Linked DNA regions of Homo sapiens: region 2 is linked to region 1. Evidence: promoter capture Hi-C in 16 types of primary human blood cells and fetal thymus (Javierre and others, 2016). All regions are on one chromosome and are shown on one strand. Each heading gives the region's core, a stretch centred on a gene start or on the middle of the fragment in contact. The rest is flanking DNA. Distances are from core to core; before and after follow the strand shown.

Region 1 (5,014 bases), core at 1,301-3,800:
TTGCAAATGTCCATTTCACTTCTTCTATAGAAAAGGTCACTGGATGTGGTGGCTCATACCTGTAATCCCAGCACTTTGGGAAGCCAAGGTGGGCAGATGGCTTGAGGTCAGGAGTTTGAGACCAGCCTGGGCAACATAATGAGACCTTGTCTCCACACACACACACAAAAAAATACAAAAATTAGCTGGGCGTGGTGGCATGTGCCTGTAGCCCCAGCTACTTAGGAAGCTGAGGTGGGAGGATCACTTGAGCCCAGGAGGCAGAGGTTGCAGTGAGCCAAGATCGTGCCACTGCACTCCAGCCTGGGCAACAGAGTGAGACCCTGTCTCCAAACAAACAAACAAAAAAACTGTAAAGGCCAACTCTACTTTTACAGTACAATCACAACTCAAGAAACCCTGGTAACTTTCAACAGCAATAAAAACAAGGTTTGTGAGCTCATGAAATGATCTAATATACAGCTTCAGCGGCCTCTTACAGGATAATGACCCCATCACCTCTTCTTCATCTGCCTGACTACTCTGATATCAAAAAAAAGGGGCTGGGCACGGTGGCTCACACCTGTAATCCCAGCACTTTGGGAGGCCAATGCAGGCAGATCATGAGGTCAAGAGATTGAGACCATCCTGGCCAACATGGTGAAACCTTGTCTCTACTAAAAATACAAAAATTAGCTGGGCATGGTGGCATATGCCTGTAGTCCCAGCTACTCGGGAGGCTGAGGCAGGAGAATTGCTTGAAGCCGGGAGGTGGAGGTTGCAGTGAGCCGACAGCACACCCCTGCACTCCAGCCTGGTGAGAGCGAGACTCTGTCTCAAAAAAAAAAAAGAAGGTTGGGAGGACAGATCCAGTTTGTCAGAGGAATTACTTGAACTAGCTGAGTCCTTCACTATATAAAAATGTTTTACTTAATATAACTATTTCAAAATTAACAGGCAAAACCCCACCAGAATGGTCTTTCAACAAACTGAAAAATTTATCAACAGTGTCTTCTTCAAGTACTCTGCAGCCTAAGTTTTAAATGAACTAGTTCTAGAATATGATGTCATGTTTATCCACCAAGTCATAAAATCTCTGTATTACCCCCTCATAGAATTTTTGTACTAGGAATTACCTTGGAGATCATTTAGTTCAATACCTTTATTTTATACACAGTGAGGTGGCGGCCCAAAGAATTCAGCTGACTTGCTTGATGCTCTTTCTTGTGTCTGACAATGTTCCTCCATACTCACAGCACTTTAGACGTTAGAAGAACCTAATGACATCTGTGGGAGGCAAAAGCTACTCGACTATTTTTACAGAATCCTGGAGCAGAAAGGCTTCTGAGATCACAGAGTTACAAATTCCTACCAAATGATTCAATTCTGTTTACATCATCCCTCAAAATCATCAAGTTTACTCAAGCATCTAAATAAGAAACAGCATATTCCATTTTTCAAAATAATCACAACTTTTGGGAATGACTCTCATCTTTTGATCCAAAAGCTATGTCCAGTAACTTCTTACTGACCCTCCCGCTAGTCTCTGGAGTTAGGAAGACTGACACAAGCAATGTAAACACTTTTCTATGAGAGTTTCCACAAGCATAAGGATAATGACCCTATGCCTACAAAGCATACACATCCCCAGCTTATTTAATCAGTTCTCCTAAGACCTGCTATCCAGGCCCCTCACTGCCACAGGTGTTATCTATGTCTTCGTAAAAAGCAGCACCCAGAAGTGGCTGGGAATGGCCAGATCAGTCCTGACTAAGTGTAAACATCACCTCTCCTGATCTGAGTGCTACATATCTGGTAATTTAGCCTACAAATAAACTGCATTCTGACAGACACGTTAGTTGGTTTAAACTGAGTCAACTACAACTATGAGGTGAATGGCATGAGTCTCTTTCACCCTGTGCTGAAGAGGCTGGATTTTATCTATAATGGGCCTCCCTTCAACTGTTTCCCTGTTATTCAAGTACTCACACAGCCTCTGACTCAGGCAGCCTCTCGACTGAAAACGGCGACTAATCCAGTCCACTCCACATCCTGGACTGTCACTCACCCCCACGCCACAGAAACCTGTTTCTTTCTCATAAGCTGTGGATAAGGTGGAATGTGTAAACTACTCCCTGATACCAAGTTTCCAGGTAAAAAGCACTGTCAAAGTTGACACTATTTTCCTTAAAACATTTAAAAACCCATACTTTTACATGCAAAATCAATATAAAATCATCAGTAACTTGGTCTTTTTTTTGGTTAAGGTTTATTGCTTCAGTCTCTTTCAAAGAATTTTTTGATACTTAAACCTTTACAGAAAAATTTATAAAGTTCCACAGATATCAACAATTCATAAATTCCAAGGGGCTTTTGGATAGTTTTTTTTAATCACTATAAAAAATTTCACTTCCCATTTAAAACAAAAAAAAACACAAAGTGCACACACGTACACGAGGCTAACTGCTCATTACATGCTCAGTCACAGGGTGACAGAGAAAAAAAAAGTCACCACCATAAAAGGAGGTCTGCACAGCCTCTCTTAAAACAACATGCCACAGTTAAAACTTACTTCAGTTTGGACAACTACTCACAGCTACTACACAGAGACCCGAACGAGTCACTGATATGTAAGTACAAGATCTTTTGCTTTTTCAACAAACTTTTTAAAGAAAAACTTTAAAAGCCTAAGTTTTAAGGTAAAAGGTAAAAAGGAAAACAATCTATTTAAGAACAAGCTACCATCACTTCTAACAAAAATTATATTAATAATGTAAGTTTACTCTCTCTGCTGACTGGTAGGTCTAGTTAGTTCTTATAAAGTTGACTGAAAGCGATGGGTCCACCAGAAATATCTTTGTCAAAAAATAGGGCTCACTTCATGTACTACTGTATAAACTCACAATGACAAAAGACAGTATCAAGCAAAACTATGCAAATAATGCCAATATTTCAGGATAACTTAGTATGAAGGAAAAGGAACAAAGTTATTTTAATATAGAATATTCCTATGCTATAGGAATTATTAGAAATATAAGATTATTTCTCAGGATAGAATCTCAGGGGTAGAATTCCTAGGGCAAAGGGTATATTTTCTAAAGCTTTAGATATAAAACGGTACTTTTTGGTCTACAAAAACATTTTACCAATTTACCCTCCCGCCAGCAAAGAGTACCAATCTTTGCTTTTTAAATGCTAAATACTACTAATTAGATAAGTGAAAAAAAAGTCTGTTGTGTGGTTTATACTTGTGTTTACTTAGACTAAACGTATCTTTTCTATGTGCCTGAGGGGAAAAAATCACAATGAATTCTATGCAGTGCTTTGGCAACATTTATGTCCAGGTTGGGAATGGTGGTAACAGAAACTTGGCAAAATAGAAGCTGTGAAGAGACTTCCTTTAAAGGGCAGTGAGGGTTTTATATATGTGTGTTTGTGTGTGTGTTGGGGGAGGGGGGCGTGGTATTTTGTTTTTTTGGTGTCACTCTGAGTACAATATAGTGTAATAAGAGCAAGGGCTCTGAAATCAGGATCAAATGAAATTTACAAGCTGTGTGGCCCCCCCACACACAAGTTACCTAATATCTGGCTTCAGCTGCTTTACCTGTAAAATGGGGAGTATTACTACTGCCAAGTCCTTACAACATTGCCTCTCATTATAAGTGCTAAAAAACTGTCTCCCATCATTCTTCTCCCATCTCTCTGGCCACTGACGTACCAGAGGGTGAATCCAACAGATATGTTATGGATATTTTACATAAAGACCCTGAATCAGGCTGGGTGTGGTGGCTCACTCCTGTAATCCCAGCACTTTGGGAGGCCGAGGCAGGCGGATCACCTGAGATCAGGAGTTCGAGACCAGCCTGGCCAACATGGTGAAACCCCATCTCTACTAAAAATATAAAAGTTAGCCAGGCACGGTGGCACTCACCTATAATCCCAGCTACTCAAGAGGGTGAGGCAGGAGAATCCCTTGAACCTGGGAGGCGGAGGTTGCAGTGAGCCGAGATTGCGCCACTGCACTCTAGCCTGGGCGACCATGCGAGACTCTGTCTCGATAGATAAATAAATAAATAAATAAATGGCCCTGAGTCTATGGATGATCACACATCTAACTGTGCTTACTGGTAGGACTGCACACTTCTTATATTTTAGCATGTTTTCTCTCTGCGGGTTCACTGCACTTTTTGGACATAAAACCACAAAGAATATGCTACTCCACAAAATGTTCACTCACATGTTTATGTATCGCGTTAGTGACAATGGTAATGATCCCTTGCATAAATTACTTTCATCTGGCTTCCTAGAGCTAATTAGTACCATGACCAGTCAGTTAATGGAATAAATATTAACTCAGGTTTCTATATGACTTTAATTCATTTATTTATTCTATAGATATTTACTAGATATCTATTGTAGGTTGGTTCTGTAGCATTCTATAGGATAAAATGTTGGATGAGATCAAGTCATCATCCTCAAGAAGCTTACATTTAAAAGAGCTTCGCACCTAATAAAGCCGTTTACAGGGATACTTTTCTCTCTGCTATGGTTAAGACCTGCTGGAGTTGTTAGGCAGCCCTGGACGTGGCCTGTGTAGAGGACGCGTGGTGTTCTCCAGTCTGGGGGGTTTATCACCTTCTCAAGAAGTCTGGGCATTGTATAAAATGAGATAACACATGTGAGAATCCTCTGAAAGCTGTGACAGTAACACAGATGGCTGTGGTGTTTTGGAAGCCCAAAGAGAAGAATAAAAATATTTTGTTAAATCTCTGCAAATATCTAAAAAGTAGTTTAAAAATCAATTAACAGCATAAAAGCCTATTCTAGATATTCACCATCTTTTTTCAATCGAAATTTCAGTCTAAATTGTTTTATTATTAAAATACTGTTAAAACAGTACTCTAAATCCATTTATAAAACCTTTACTTACTTTAAAATATGCTACAAATAAACTAATAAACTCCTTCATTTGAATCAACATCTCTTCCTCCCTGCTCCCATTCCCTTCCCCCAGTTCTCCTAGTCTCTCTTGTTC
Region 2 (5,014 bases), core at 1,396-3,895, 40 kb after region 1:
GCAATGCCTACTGAACTGCTGAGCATGCTCATTTCAGAAAGGGGAAAACAGCTTTAACATGGAAGCTTACAGTCTAGATTGAAGTTCTGTAAGAATTCGTAGTAATAATATGAAAAATGTAATTTATTTTGAATATTTTATTTTATAAATGTTTCAAATATGTCACCCTACCAACTCATTATTTAGCTCTTACCTTAATGGTGTCAGGATTTTCTCATTCTATTCCTCTTTAAGTATTTATAAAGACTTTCTGGAAGTACGTACTTCAAAATTTAAAAATACCCCTTGCTTATAAGAAAGCAAAAAATCAATCACTTAGATTATATAGAAAAAATATCAAACCTCTTTGTATTACAGAATTTGAGAAATATAATAATAACTCTACATTGCAGTGAATTATGTCCTGGAACAAGTTCTGCTGTACCAGTACTAGGCTGCACAGAACATCCTGGGAAATGCGGTCCCTTGGCTGGACTCCAATTAATTTCTCTAGTTCTCTAAGCCTACTTATGAATCTCACAATAAAGAAGAGCACAGAATCAGAATATAGCTCATTTAAACCACAGAATGCTCACGGTTTAAAGGGATTTCATAGGCACTCCATTTGTGGTACCTACCAATGAGTGGACTTCCTGCAACACCCCTGCCTCGCACTCTCCCAGCCACAGCCTGAGTATCCTCAGTGTCAAATTCAGCAGCTCCCAAGGGAGATCACCTCATCTTGAGACAGTGAGTGCTGCAAAGTTACTCCTTATGCCAAGCCCAAAGCTATATCCCGTAGCATGTCCCCGTGGTCTTCATTCACCACAGGCCATTCCCCCCTTATTTAACTCCTCTTTCACTGGGCAGCCCTTTCAACAGTGGAAGACAGTTCTGCCCCAGTTTCTTCTCTCTGGGGTAAGCAATGCCTGTTCTCCACCTGTTTCTCCCATGGCCAATCTCCATCTCCACCCCATCCTGATGCCAACCTGGACCACCAGCAACATCCTTGTTTCCCTGTAATCCTACAAATGGCATCTAGGGGCATATTAGTGTCAACTGGCAGTCACTCCATGATGCCATTTCACAAGCCAAACAACTCTATCATTCAGTGCCTCTACAGCTGATTTTTAAGACTCAAGAGAAAGACCTAATGTTCTCTCTCTTACCTTCTTTACCTTTTGTGTTTCTTTTTTTTTTTTTTTTTTTTTTTGAGACAGAGTCTCACTCTGTAGCCCAGGCTGAATGGAGTGCAGTGACAGGATCATGGCTCACTGCAGCCTCGGCCCTCCAGGCTCAGGTGATCCTCCCACCTCAGCCTCCTAGGTAGCTGAGACTACAGGCACATGCCACCACGCCTGGCTAATTTTTTGTATTTTATGTAAACACAAGGTTTTGCTATGTTGCCCAGGATGGTCTCCAGGACTCAAACGATCTGCCTGCCTTGGCCTCCCAAAATGCCGAGATTACAGGTGAGAGCCACCATGCCTGGCCTCCTTCTATGTTTCATATTTTGACTATAAAGCCCAAAACTCCAGCTTGCTGAGGCAGCTAATGTGTTAGAGCTATTGTTCTTCTGAGAAGACTGCTAGCAGCTCCCCGAAAACCCACTGTTCCCTTATCTCCAGGGACACAACTGCCCAGGTAAGATTACATCTCCCAGCCTCCCTGTGATTAGGTGTGGCCACGTGACCAAGTTCTTGCCAATGGTTTGGGAGCAGGAGTGACATCTGCAACCTTGAAGGCACCTGGGGAAAGGCAATCCCTCCTCCTGCATGCCCCTTCTTTCTTCCACACCAGCTGGAAGCAGAAGCCATGGAGCCTCCTTGGAAGGCACATGTTGAGGAAAGCAGAGGTGCTCCACCAGACCAGGCCCTTGACGACTTACCGGTACAGAGCCTGCCTACCCCACAGGGTGGTTACAAAAGTGAAATGAACATCTGCGCTCTTTGAGCCACTGTGTCAGCGGTTTGTTACAGAAGCTTAGCCTCCACCATTACTGAAATATCCTCCTAGTTTTTGTAATTTGCAAATCTGATGAGCAAACACACTATATTTTGGTATTTTTTATCACTGATAAAATATTAATCAGAACAGCAGGGACCAAGAATGCTACAAAAAGATAAATGTTACTCTTTCAATTTCAAATGACTATAATAATAAAGGCAGATACCTTTCAGAGCATAAGAAAGCAGCAGTAGCAAGTGGAAGGCTCTGAAGTGAGCAGACTCTGGAACAGAGCTAGTTTCTTCCTTCCTTACTTATATCCTCCTGGACAAGGCAAAGGTGCTGAGGACTGCAGGAAAATACTGCTTCGGCTTAAGTCATGAGGAAAGGTTCCAAAAGGACTCATTGATTTTACTCAGGATAACCTCCCCTCCCTTCCCCTCACCATTTAGAAATCTAAAGCTATGAAATTCATCCTTATCATCAAAATATGATAAATGAGCAAGCCTAAAATATGCTCCAAAAATTGCATCAAAGGACACAATCAACAAAGAAAAGAGGCACCCTACGGAGTAAGAGAAAAAATATTTGCAAATCATCTGATAAGGGATTAACATCTAGATTACATAAAGAGCTCCTACAGCTCAACAACCAAGAAAGATTAACAAATGGGCAAAGAACTTGAATAGGCAATTCTCTAAAGAAGAAATATATATAAATGGCCAAGAAGCCCATGAAAAGATTCTTGAAGTCACTCATCATCGGAAATGGAAATGAAACCACAATGAGACACCACCTTATGCCCATGAGGATGGCTACTACAGGAAAGGAAGGGAGGGAGGGGAGGGAAGGGCGAGTGTGAGAGAGGTGTGCCTGCGAGCCAAGATAGGGAGAAACTGGGCATTGTGTTGCTGGTGCAGCTGCTGGGGAAAACGATACAGCCATTCCCCAACAAACTAAAACCAGAATTACCACACGATCCGGCAATTTCACTTTCAGGGATATAACCCAAAAGAACTGAAAGTAGGGACTGAAGAGATATTTGCTGTATGATGGGTACAGGCTTTCAGTCTGGGAAGATGAAAATGTCCTGGAGGTTGGCTGCACAGCAGTGTGAATGAACTTAACACTACTGAACTGCACATTTAAACATGGTTAAGACGATAAATTGTCTAATACATATATATATATATTTAACATGTCAAATTTGTTCTAAGGCCACATTTATGTTTAATATCTTAGTATAATATCAGATACAAATAAGAGTTAAAATGGAATCTTCTCAAGGCCCTAGCCCAGGAATACACATAGTCCTACAGAGAAAAACTGTTTCCTAAAAAAGAGGATGCTTCCAAAGAGGGCAGAAATGGTCTACAAGCCAAAATGTTTTAGAGTAAGCTTGTCCAACCTGCAGCCCATGGGCCACATGGGCCCAGGACAGCTTTGAATGCAGTCCAACACAAATTAGTACACTTTCTTAAAATATTATGAGTTTTTTCCATGATTTTTTTTTTGATCATCAGCTATCATTAGTGTTAGTGTATTTTATGTGTGGCCCAAGACAGTTCTCCCAATGTGGCCAAGGGAAGCCAGAAGATTGGCCACCTTGTTTTAGAGGAATACATTCATATCTATTATATAAAGCTACATATTATATAGTATTATGTAATATAATATAGAAATATTCATAAAGTAACATTAAAATATTTTATAATATTCTACCAATTAATAGCTTTTAAAAAAAATTATTTCAATTTCAAAGAGACTTTAGAAGGGGTAAAGGTGAAGAGCTCCAAGACCCACTAATCATCTGTAGGTGGCAGTAGAAGCACAGTATTTATGTCAAAGCAGCCCTGAACTATCAATCGGTATGGAAAACCGGAGACCATACATAAGAAATCTGGATCTATTTCATATTCAAATAAACTGTGTGAGTACTCCTACATTCAATAAATTGCAACTAACTTCTCTGATACGAAACCTTTTTAACTTGCCCACTTTTACCTTAAAACCTCTACACAGCCAATCCCAATCTACCTATTTCTTTTTGTCTCATTATTTTATTTGGTACGTCTTTGTAATTGTATCTACCTAGAAACATTAGCCATTCATTTTTTGAGACATGGCATAACCTTTCTTACAGAAAAACACAAACACCAGTCGAATCCATATGCCTGTTAACTGAGGGCCTGCTGGGTGAAGCACTACTCTAGATGCGCTGAAACGTTTGAAGACGCACGTGCCAGGTCCTTGTTCACAAGGCACACACAAAACGAGAACAAGAAGAAGAAAAGGGGTGAAAGTGCAATCAGGGATCAGTACCCACATGACTGTCAAAGAGAGATGTGTCACAGATACTTCAAACTCCAGTTCTAAAACCTGTAATTACTGATCCTAAATCAAATGTTCCATTCATGTTAGAAGAGCAAATCCTACACCAGAGGCAGAAAGATGTAAGCCAACACAGTCTGAGAACCTTTTTTCCAAAGAAGCACAGCGGCAGCTGGCCTGTGGGTCTCAGGGTGGTCCTGCCTGCCTCCTTCCTTCCCTTCTCAGTTAAGACTCTCTTTAGACTGTGGCTTGCTGAGCGCAAGAAGCTGTATGAGCTGAAAGTCATAAACTTCTCATAAAGTCTACCCATACAAATGGTATTAGCAATAAGAAGATAACATTGCTGCAAATATTCAACTGAATGGAGTACTAGTTTTATTTTATAAGCATACAAGGGAGAGTTCTGGTAAATACCTTGTCTGAGTAACCAAAATCAATGCAGTTTTATTACCAAGAAAAAAACAACACGTCTTCCTCTAAAGGTTGATTATAATGTCTCCAAGAGGTCGACTTAAAAATAAATTTAAAATATGGTAAAAAACATACACACTGAAGAACAATTAAAAAAAAAAAAAAAAACAGCGATGGCAAAGATCAGGAACTAATGTGACCCCATCAGGGGACTGAGTGCTTTGCATTTAGAGTAGGCCCAAACTTCAGCAGACACATTCTTGGTTTTCCTCCCTGGGATGAGGACTTAGGAAATGCATCCTGGACGCATTCAGGCTTCCATGCAGCCTCCAAGCTCCTATCCTGC

The links. The method cuts DNA at HindIII sites, captures the fragments that hold promoters and counts their contacts. A CHiCAGO score of 5 or more calls a contact.
Region 2: a contact is called between a fragment that was not itself captured here and the fragment with the promoter of GPR183 in region 1, in 4 of 17 cell types (total CD8 T cells, non-activated CD4 T cells, monocytes and 1 more). The highest score is 6.3, in total CD8 T cells.

What each region holds. Positions count from the first base shown.
Region 1 is chr13:99,304,935-99,309,948 of GRCh38, reverse strand. GPR183 (G protein-coupled receptor 183) reads left to right here and starts at 2,550. Exons shown (of 2, transcript NM_004951.5): 1 at 2,550-2,609. The region is part of intron 4 of UBAC2 (UBA domain containing 2); the gene reads right to left. The HindIII fragment of the contact is 4,315 bases long and covers 1-3,082 here.
Region 2 is chr13:99,264,790-99,269,803 of GRCh38, reverse strand. All of the region lies in intron 4 of UBAC2 (UBA domain containing 2), which reads right to left. Among named protein-coding and RNA genes, the nearest start is that of GPR18, 8.9 kb to the right of the region's middle. The HindIII fragment of the contact is 1,363 bases long and covers 1,964-3,326 here.